Regions from separate parts of the Homo sapiens genome. Here region 1 is linked to region 2. The links are contacts of gene promoters, found by promoter capture Hi-C in blood cells and fetal thymus (Javierre and others, 2016). All regions are on one chromosome and are shown on one strand. The core of a region is centred on a gene start or on the middle of the fragment in contact, and the rest is flanking DNA. Distances in the headings are between cores, read along the strand shown.

Region 1 (5,731 bases), core at 2,419-4,918, 2.8 Mb before region 2:
GGGGATTTACAGTTTCTCTGAAACCCACTCATGGAACCTAGATTAGGAGATTCTAAGAGAAGAAAAGAGGAAGGGAGGGAGGGGGAGACAGTAGTGAGGAGGGAGTTGGAAAAAAATGGGGAGAGTTTTGAAACAAACGTGTTGAGAAGTTTGAACCACAGATCCTCTGCCCCCTCTTCACTCTGTGCTAGTTCAAGAACCTATACTTTTCCTACAAATCACTTCTCTTAGTCAATGATATCATAGTCCATGTATCGTTCTGCAAACCTGCCTTTTCCCATCAAGTCTGCCTATTTCATATCTATTCATATATGGTATATTTTGATGTAGTCTATTCACTTTAACTGCTAGAGAGTATGTGGTAGGAATTTACCTCATTTTATGTATCCATTTTCTAATATTGGACATTTAAATAGTTTCCTGTTTCCCGTTACCTTTGGAAATATCCTTGTATATTTCTCCTTGCGCACAAGTGAGAGAAGTTTCTCTGTGGACTTTTCTTAGAGTGGAATTGCTGGGTTGTAGGGAGTGAGGGTTTTTTTTTTTTGAGACGGAGTCTTGCTCTGTGGCCCAGGCTGGAGTGCAGTGGTGTGATCTCGGCTCACTGCAACCTCCACCTCTTGCGTTCAAACGATTCAGGAGTGAGCAGTTCTTGAACATTTTAAGATACAATTACCTTGCTCTCTGGGGTCATTGCACAAATCTACAGTAGTGTCTTGGGGTTGTGTTACCCACGTCCTTTTCAAGGCTTGTTATTTTCTGACTTTTATACATTTAAAAAATGAATCTGATGGGCTTAAAATGATGTGTGTATATTTTTAAATGTGTGTTATATTTGCATTTATTCACTTTTTTTTTTTGGCGTTTGTGTGCCTCTTCTGCAAATTTCCTATGTCCTTTGCCTATTTCCCTTCCCCTACTAGCATATTGAAGGTGAAGTCTTTCTAGGTCTTGGTTTTGGTTTTTAAAATTTGGCCATAGCCCTACCTCCTCAAAACTTGGTAAAAAAAAAAAAAGTGGCATGCATGGGAGACGAAGTCAGAACTTGAATTTAGGGTATTCCAGTTTCAGTCCTGGCTCTGATGCTAACTGGCTGTGTGAATTTGGGCAAGTTATTTAACCTCTGTAAACCTCAGCTTCCTCACCTGGAGAATGGTGATAACCATCTCTACTTCTCAAAGTCAATGACAGGCTTAAATACACTGGTGCCTATGAGTGGTCAGTAAATAACAGTTGAGTTGAAGAGCCCAGATAAAGTTCTCACCATGTCCAGATGCCTTCACATATAGCTCTGAACGGATCTATAGCACAGCCTCCATGAAGGAATTCAGCTATCACAGTGGGGCACAGCCCTCCCATAGGACGGTTCTGCTGTCTGCCAGGTGGCCCTAGAACTGACACACAGTTCTGGAGACCCGTAGACTGTTCTAGGGAAGCCCCCTCCCCACTTTCTCTGCTACTTCCAGAGAGGTCTCATGGGACATCATTAACCTCACATCGGAACAGTAGTGGCTCTGGAATGCCAAACCAGCATCTATACCCTCCCTTAATGCCCACTAAGGAAACCAAACCATTTGGAATTAGTAATAATAACAAAAGAAACAACAATAGCTCATCATTCTTGAATGCTACCTGAATAGATATAAAGCACTTAGAACATTGCCTAACACATAGGAAGCACTATGTAAGTGTTAGCTATCATCATTATTATTATTACATGGTGATGATGATGATGTACTAGGCACTGAGTTAAGCATAATGGACATTAATTTGTTTAAGCCTCATAACTGTAAAGATTTTTGGTTAATTCTCATAAGTATAAGTGCTGGGGATGGACACCCCTCCCAGCGCTTTTCTAAGTTCTTTCTCTAAGCACAGAGATGTTGGACTAGGGGGGAATGATTTTTTTTCCTTAAGATGATAGTAATACTTCATGTAGTATTTGTTCATCAATTAACAGCTTACAAAGTGCTTCCATAGGCATGCATTCTTTCAGTCCTCACAAAATCCTAGTGCAGGAGTATCTTATCTCCCTTTTGAAACAGCCCCCTCTCAGCTTCCAGGAGCCACATATCCTGGTTTCCTTCCTCTATCATGGTCCACTTCTTTCCAATCTTCTTTTGCTTGATCCTCCTTTTCCCCCCGATCTCCACATGTAAGCGTTTCTTAGAGGATCTGATGCATGAGTTCCATGCGCAGAGATTCTAGCTTATTAAGAGTTGATTTGCTGTTAAGGCTTAGGCAGCAGCACTTTTTTGGTGGGTGCAAATTATTATTATTATTATTTTTCACAGAGCAGTGTGAACATTTATTTGTACAAATTTATGGGCCAACACTCTCACCACTCCGATTCAACATAGTGTCAGAGGTATTTGAACCAGAGTAACTCCATCTTAAATAGGAGCTGTGTAGAATGAGGCTGAGTCCAACTGGGCTGCATTCCCAGACAGTTAACGCATTTAAGTCACAGGATGAGGTAGGAGGTTGGCACAAAGTACAGATCATAAAGACCTTGCTGATAACACAATTTGCAGCAAAGAAGTCAGCTAAAATCCACCGAAACCAAGATGCCCACGAGGGTGACCTCTGGTTGTCCTCACTGCTACACTCCCAACAGCGCCATGACATTTTACAAACTCTATGGCAATGTGAGAAAGTTACCCTATATGGTCTAAAAAGGGGAGGCATGAATAATCCACCCCTCGTTTAGCATATCATCAAGAAATAACCATAAAAATGGACAACCAGCAGCCTCCAGGGCTGCTCTGTCTATGGAGTAGCCATTCTTTTATTCTTTCACTTTCCTATTAAACTTGCTTTCACTTTATGCACTTGCCCTGAGTTCCTTCTTGCGCAAGATCCAAAAACCTTCTCTTGGGATATGGATTGGGACCACTTTCCAATAACAATAGTACTGGAAATCCTAACCAGAGCAATCAGGCAAGAGAAAAAAAAAAGTCATCCAAACAGGGAAAGAATATGTCAAATTATGTCTCTTCCCTGATGATATAATTCTATATCTAGAAAATCCTAAAGTCTCTACCAAAAGGCTCCTAGAATGGATAAATGACCTCAGTAAAGTTTCAGGATACAAAAATCAATGTGCAAACATCAGTAGCATTTCTACACATCAATAATGATCAAGCTGAGATCCAAATCAAGAATGCAACCCCATTTACAGTAGCCACACCAAAAACAAAATATCTATCTGGGAATACCTCTAACCAAGGAGGAGAAAGATCTCTAGAAGGTGAACTACAAAATACTGCTGAAAGAAACCATAAATGACACACAAATGGAAAAATATTCCATGCTTATGGACTAGAAGAATCAATATTGTTAAAATGGCCATACTGCCCAAAACAGTCTATGGATTCAATGTTATTTCTATCAAACTATCAAAGCCATTCTTCACAGAACTAGAAGAAACTATTCTACAGCTCATATGGAACCAAAAAAAAAAAAAAAAAAGCCCCAATAGCCAAAGCAATCCTCAGCAAAACAGAACAAAGCTGGAGGCATCATAGTACCTGACCTAAAACTATACTCTAAGGCTACGGTAACAAAAACAGCATGGAAGTGGTATGAAAATAGAAACATGGACCAATGGAACAGAATATAGAACCCAGAAATAAAGCCACACGTTTACAACCAACTGATCGTTGACAAAAATAAGCAATCGAGAAAGGACCCTTTATTCAATAAATGGTGTTGGGATAACTGGCTAGCCATATGCAGAAGAATAAAACTGGACCTCTATCACCACATACAAAAATTAACTCAAGATGGGTTAAAGACTTACATGTAAGACCTAAAACTAAAAATTCTAGAAGAAAATCTAGGAAACACCATTTTCGATGTTGGTCTTGGGAAATAATTTATGACTAAGTCCTCAAAAAATTTGCAACAAAAACAAAAATTGACAAATGGGACCTAATTAAATGAAAGAGCTTCTGCACAGGAAAAGAAACTATCAACAGAGTAAACAGACAACCTGGAGAACAGCAGAAAATATTAACAAACTATGCATCCAAAAGAAGTGTAATATGAAACTTAAACAATTCAACCAGCAAAAAAACAAATGACCCTATTAAAAAGTGGGCAAAAGACATGAACAGACACTTCTCAAAAGAGGTGGGTAGATCACCTGAAGTCAGGAGTTTGAGACCAGCCTGGCCAACGTTGTGAAACCCCGTCTCCACTAAAAATACAAAAAATTAGCCAGGTATGGTGGCAGGCGCCTGTAATCCTAGCTACTCAGGAGGCTGAGGCAGGAGAATCGCTTGAATCTGGGAGTCGGAGGTTGCAGTGAGCCAAGATCACACCATTGCACTCCAGCCTGGGCAACAAGAGTGAAACTCTATCTAAAACAAAACAAAACAGACATACAAGCAGCCAACAGACGTAAAAAAATGCTCAACATTGCCAATCATCAGAGAAATACAAATCAAGACCACAGTGAGACCAATTAATAGCTCACACCCGTCAGAATGGCTTTTGTTAAAAGTGAAAAGATAATAGATGTTGGTGAGGCTGTGGAGAAAAGGGAATGCTTGTACACTTTTGGTGGAAATGTAAGTTAGTTTAGCCACCATGGAAAGCAGTTTGGAGATTTCTCAAAGAACTTAAAACAGAACTACCATTCGACCCAGCAATCTCATTACTGGGTATATACCCAAAGGAAAATAAATTGTTCTATCAAAAAGACACATGCACGCATGGGTTCATCACAGCACTATTCACAACAGCAAAGTCATGGAATCAGTGTAGGTGCCCATCAGTGGTGGACTGAATGAAGAAGATGTATACACCATGGAATACTGTGCAGCCATACAAACAAACAAAATCACATCCTTTGCAGCAACATGGGTACAGCTGGAGGCCATTATCCTAAGCAAATTAATGCAAGAACAGAAGACCAAAGACTACATATTCTCACTTACAAGTGGGAGATAAATATGCTCATAGATGTAAAGATGGCTACTACAAATAAAGTTGCTACGAACAATCACAGATCAGTTTTTGTGTGGGCATAGGTTTTCATTTCTTTGGGGTAAATGCCCAGGGGTGGGTACAATTGCTGGGTCATATAGTAAGTGTATTTTTTTTTTTTTTTTAAAGAAAGTGGCAATCTATTTTTCCATGGTGGCTATACCATTTTTACACTCCAGAAATATACAAAAAATCTAGTTTCTCCACATCCTTGCTGGCATTTGATACTGTCACTGTTTTTTATTTCAAATGTTCTAATAGATGAGTATTGATAGCTCATTGTGGTCTTGATTTGCATTTTCCTAATGGCAAATTATGTTGAACATTTTTCCTGTGCTTGTTTGCCATTTGTATATCCTCTTTGGTGAAATGCGCCTTTTGCCCATTTTCTTTTTTTTTTTTTCTTTTGAGAAGGAGTCTCGGTCTATCACCAGGCTGGAGTGCAGCAGTGCAATCTCGGCTCACTGCACCCTCCACCTCCCGGGCTCAAGCGATTCTCCTGCCTCAGCCTCCTGAGTACCTGGGACTATAGGCACGCACCACCACGCCCGGCTAATTTTTGTGTTTTTAGTAGATACGGGGTTTCACCATGTTGGCCAGGATGGTCTCAATCTCTTGACCTTGTGATCTGCCTGTCTCAGCCTCCCAAAGTGCTGGGATTACAGGCGTGAGCCACTGCACCCGGCTGCCCATTTTCTAATTGAATTATTATTATTTGTTTAATGTTCAGTTTTGAGAG
Region 2 (5,554 bases), core at 307-2,806:
TCGGGCCAGCTCTACCTGCTGTGTGGCACAACCAGCTGTCCGGCAGCTGTCCCCTGGGCCCTGCCACAGCCCGGCTGTCTGCCTCCAAAACACGCACTCCAGCCCAGGCTGCCTCTGGAGGGTAGAGGAGGGGGTCCAGGCAAAGGGGACAGTCTGATCTGCCTTCTGAAAAGTCAGTCCCCCACCGAACCTAATAGGAGCCTTGTGCTAAGCTAAGCCCTCCTGGACTCCTCGACCCGGAGTTTGCCCAGCTGTCCCCAGTTCCCTAGCCTGCCTCTCCCAGGAGGGGGCCAGGATACAGAGGGCTCCCTGGCGTCTGGCAATAGGGGTGCCTCTGGGCGGGTGCGGCTTTCCGGGAGCCCGCGGGACTCCCCCACTCCCCACTCCCGTCTGGGAGGTTCGGCGTGGGTTGGCGATGGGGGTGGAAGGCTCCCGGGTCTGTGGATCTGCGGCAGGAGGGGCGGCTGGTAGCAGGAGTCCCTGCATCACCCCCACCCCCAGGGGCGTTCCGGGGTGGGTGGGGGCATCTAGTGCCCCGCGAAAGGAAGAGGAGGAGGGGGCGAGCGTGGAGATGAGTTCAGGAGCGGAAAGCAGCGCGCGCCCCTCCGACCGGCAGCGGGGGTGGGCGCCTTCCCGGGGCGCGGGAGCGTCCCCAAAGCCGCGGGGCGTCCGCAGCGGGTAGGAGCTCTGCCTTGCACCTCTCCACGGCGGGGCGTCCCGCACGTCCCCCCATGCTGGTCCCCGGCCCCGGAACGGCGCGCGCCCCCTGCCCCGGAACGTCGCCCCTAGCCAGGCGGAGCGCTGGGAGCTGGGCCCAGGCGGCGGGAGGAGGGCGAACGGGTCCGGGGCTCGGGCCTCGATGGCCGCGCCGCCCCGGGGGAGCCGGAGCCGAGCTGGCCGCCGCCCGCGCGCACTCACCAAGCCCGCTGAGCTCCTCCTCGCACGAGTACCAGATGCCGGTGTGGAAATTCCTGAAGAGGAAGCGGTCGTCGCCGGTCTCCCAGCTGTAGAGCGCGCCGCCAGGGGGGCCGTTCCCCGAGGCGGTGGCGGCGGCGGCGGCGGCGGCGGGGGCGGCGGTGCCGTTGGCCGTGGCGTTGGCGCCCGAGTTGGGGCAGTTGGCGCGCCCGCCCTGGCCGCAGCCCGGCTTGGGGACCCGCTGCGTGCCCTGGCACCAGTGCGTGGTGAGGAAAGCGGTGGTGGCGAACAGCAGCGCCAGCAGGTTCAGGGCCACGGCCAGGAGCGCTCGGCCGCGGCGGCTAGTCTTCATGCCGCCCGCGCCGCCGGGACGGGACTGCACCGCCGGGGAGCTCCGCGCGCGAAGTTGGCAGCTGGCGCCCCGCGTCAGCGGCCGCTGCCCGCCGCGCCCCGGGGCTCGGGTGCCTGAGATCGGCGGCGGCGGACGCGGCGCGGGCCCATGCCCCCCCCAACCCCGGGGTGGGGGCGCGGCGCGGGGGGCGTGCGGGGCGGGCTGGCGGGGCGGGCGGCGGTGGAGGAGCGGCTACGGCGCGCCCGGAGCCCGGAGCGCGAGTGCACCTCGGCTAGGAGCCGCTGGCGCCTGGCAGCGGCCACGGCGCAGGGACGCGCGCCCCTCCGTGGGGAGACACCTGCAGGCGGCCGGCGACACTGTTCCGGAGCCCGCCCGCACGGGGAGAGGGGGCCGCCACGCCGGGCGCGGGCGGGGGCCTGGGAGTGGAGGGACGCCCCCGAAAGAAATCCGAGCCAGGGTGAGGGTCTGAGACGCAAGGAGAATCCCAGGCAAGGCGCTCCTGAGAAAAGATCCCCACGGCGGACGTGGGGCAACAAAACCCGCCGGGAGCGGGCATCTCATGAGACCCAGAGAGGCCCTGCCCCAGGAGACAAGGGCAGAGCCTGCTGGGGCTCCCCAAGAGGGACACGGACCAGCAGGACCCTGTCCCAGAAGGGGATCCCCAAAAGGACCCCCGCACCAGACCCTGAGAAAGGAGTTTTTCCAAAGGTTCTAAACAGCAGAGCCTGCAGGGCTTCCCACAGCCAGGGAGCTGCAAGACCCCCTGGATAAGACAACCCATGCTGGACTTGGAGTGGCAGAATCTGTCAGGAGGCGCCCCTCCTGGAGTATTGGGTTATAGGGTTTGAAACGTTTTTCTGTCTCCTGGGTGTCACCTCCAGCATCTGGGAAGAGCTCCCCTCCAAGGATGAAACTGTCATCTGGGCTCCCAACCATGGCATGCAACTGCAGGAAGAGTGGCAACAGGGTACCCCAGACAGCCCACTGCACCCACCTGAGATCCCAAACAGCAGAACCCTAGGAGGGCCCATGCCGGCCACAAAGTTATTGCAGCTACCAGGCAGTGGTGCCCTACAGGGGCTGCCAACCCTGCTCACATGCACACCATGTGAATGTGGGTAGAATCTTCAAGATTCGGGTGGGGGCAGGGTGGCCAAACATACTGACTTTGGGATCAAGCATATCTAGGGCTTGACCAGCTGTGTGGCTTTGAACAGGTCACTTACCCTCTCTGAGCCTCAATTTCCATAACTATAAAAAAGGGAGGACCCCCCCCCCTTCAAGGTATATCACAGTGGGCTGCTGTAATGAGATCATGGCTGCAAAAAGCATTTGGCACACAGTAGACTCAATTAATAATTCACTGTTACTGACATCTGAACCAAGATCAGTTGACCAAACTCAGACAAACCTCTTCAGGCTCTCCTGTGCAACGTGGAAACTGTGTGCAACCCCGTCCCCACCTCTGCTCTAAGATGACCACGCTCCCTGAACTCCCTTCGCGCTGCACAGCACTTACTGCCCAGATGCTCAGGGCGTGCAACAATTAATTGCATGTTGATTATAAGAGCTCATTTGAATTCTGCCCAAGCTGAGAACTGCTCCGACAACCCCCGGCTTGCCGAGTGGCAGGCCTTGCAGAATTCAAGGTTAACCGATTATGAATTGCCTTACTCCTGTGGGTGAGCCGGCACCCACTGTCAGCTGCTGCTAATCTGCCGGGGGGTAGGTGAGAGGAAAACGTTGTGGGCAACGTCCCTGGTAAGAGCAGGCACGAAGGATGGCCAAGGGTCTCCAAACTTGCTTTTAGAGCCCTTTTCTGGCACTGTGCAAGAGATTCTCAACTATTTTGAAAGAGAGGACCTCCATGTGATAATGGTGGCATTGAGAGTATTGGTTGACAGAGAAAATACATCATCGCCAAACAGCTGTAAAGAATCCAGTAGCATCTTTTTTTTTTTTTTTTTTTTGAGATGGAGTCTCACTCTGTCGCCCAGGCTGGAGTGCAGTGGTGCAATCTCAGCTCACTGCAACCTCCGCCTTCTGGGTTCAAGCGATTCTCATACTTCAGCCTCCCGAGTAGCTGGTATTACAGGCGCTTGCCACCACGCCTGGCTATTTTTCATATTTTTAGCAGAGACGGGGTTTCACCGTGTTGGTCAGGCTTGTCTCGAACTCCTGACCTCAAGTGATCTGCCCGCCTCGGCCTCCCAAAGTGCTGGGATTACAGGCATGAGCCACCGCACCCAGCCTCCAGTAGCACTTTTAAACTGGCATGCAGTATTCATCATGAGTGTCTGTGTACCAATGAAAACCAGCCCCTCGATGTGTGCTAAACAGGGTACTTCTTTGGACTCGAGGCTGTGGTTGGTGTGCATGTGAGCAGGGCTCGGTGACCTACAGCTGGGAACCCTGTCCTGCATGTTCAAAGCCAGGAGAGCCCAGGTGAGATATGTCTCAGGGACCACACTCTCTCAAGAAACACCTGAGGATGCACAGAGGGATTTGGAATTTCCATCTAAGATGCTCCTCCACTCACTGAGCCACCCACTGAATGCTCAGCACTGGGAAGAAAAGAGAACGTGAACAAAGTTCGTAAGAAAGAACATCACTCAGAACTTTGAGAGGCCGAGGCGGGCAGATCACCTGAGGTCAAGAGTTCAAGACCAGCCTGGCCAACATGGCGAAACCCTGTCTCTACTAAAAATACAAAAATTAGCCTGGTGTGGTGGCGCACAACTGTAATTCCAGCTACTCAGGAGGCTGAGGCAGGAGAATCCCTTGAACCCCGGGGGCAGAGGTTGCAGTGAGCTGAGATCGTGCCACTGCACTCCAGCCTGAGCGAGAGAGCGAGACTTTGTCTCAAAAAGAAAAAAAGAAAGAACACTGCAGAGTATGCAGGGGTGAAAGCCAGGGAGAGCAATTCAGCAGGGAGGGATCAAAGTGGGGATGGCTTCAAGGAGGGCCTCACTGAGAAGGGGACATTGGAGCAAGGATTTGAAGGAGATGTAGGGGCAAGCCATGAAGACATCCGGGGGAATGGAAGTTCCAGGCAGAGGGATGGCCAGTGCAAAAGCCTCGAGGCAGGAGCCTGTCTGGCCCTTTGGGGAAAAACTGAGAGCACAGTGTGGCTGCAGCTGAGTGAGCAAAGGGCAGAGGAGGAAAAAAAGGGGGCGGGAGGTGCTAGAGGAGGGGACAGATCACACAGGAATGCAGAGACCACACAAGGACTCAGGTATTCACTCTGAGCAAGATATTCATGCCGGCGGAGGGTCTGGGCAGAGGGGACCCATGTCTGGTTTCGTGTCTAACAGGACCGCACGTGCTGCTATGGGAAGAAGGGTGGAAGCAGAGAGACCAGACAGGCTGGTGTGTGGATTCCAGTGCATGAGGCCAGGGACTCAGACCAGTGTGGGGACAGGCATGGTGGAGGTTCTGGGTCAGCTTTAAAGGCAGCTCCAGGCCAGGTGCGGTGGCTCACGCCTTTCATCTCAGCACTTTGGGAAGCCGAGGAGGAAGGGTCACTTGAGTCCAGGAGTTCAAGAGCAGCCTGGGCAACAGAGTGAGACCCTATCTCTACAAAAGAAAATTAAAAATGAGTTGGATGTGGAGGTGTGTGCCTGTAGTCTCAGCTACTTGGGAGGCTGAGGCAGGAGGATCGCTTGAGCCGGGCAGGTTCAAGGCTGCAAGGAGCTATGATCGAACCACAGCACTCCAGCCCGGGTGACAGAGTGAGACCCTGTCTCTAAAAAAAAGAAAGTGAAATAAAGGCAGATCCAGCAGGATTTGCCCACGATAGAACACGGGGAAGTATGACTCCGATGTGTTCGGCAGGAGTTCCCGCAGGGATGGAGTTGCTATTGGCTGAGTCAGAAGCAGACCTGTGGGGCACAGGGAAAATCCAAAATTCTGGCTGAGTTTGTACTGGGCCTTTCCCATGAGCTGAAGACAGTGGATGGAGATTACACCCTTGGAGGGACCACTTCAGATGTCTACACAACCTTCGAAGTGAATCCAAACTCATCAGCAAAACCCTTGGATCACCACAGGGATTTTTATCCCAAATAGTGATATAGTTGGAATTACCTTGGGCGTAGAGGGAAGCGGTTGCAGGGAGAGGTAATGGGATTTGTTTAGGAGGCCAGAAATGTGAGCCTAAGTCCCTGGCTCCCTCCTCTCTGGCTCACTGCCACAGGCCAAGGCCTCACTGCAGCCTCCTGTCTCCATGCTGTCCCTCAGCCACCCCAACCCTGCACCTGCCTCCAGAGAGACCAGCCCCACACACCT

What was found. The method cuts DNA at HindIII sites, captures the fragments that hold promoters and counts their contacts. A CHiCAGO score of 5 or more calls a contact.
Region 1: a fragment that was not itself captured here is called in contact with the fragment with the promoter of GSG1L in region 2 in 1 of 17 cell types (naive CD4 T cells); the score reaches 5.2 in naive CD4 T cells.

Annotation. Positions count from the first base shown.
Region 1 is chr16:25,280,634-25,286,364 of GRCh38, forward strand. No RefSeq gene overlaps it. Among named protein-coding and RNA genes, the nearest start is that of ZKSCAN2, 26 kb to the left of the region's middle. The HindIII fragment of the contact is 9,281 bases long and covers 1-5,731 here.
Region 2 is chr16:28,062,158-28,067,711 of GRCh38, forward strand. It overlaps GSG1L (GSG1 like), which reads right to left and starts at 1,557. Exons shown (of 7, transcript NM_001109763.2): 1 at 919-1,557. The coding sequence starts at 1,267. The HindIII fragment of the contact is 8,058 bases long and covers 1-5,554 here.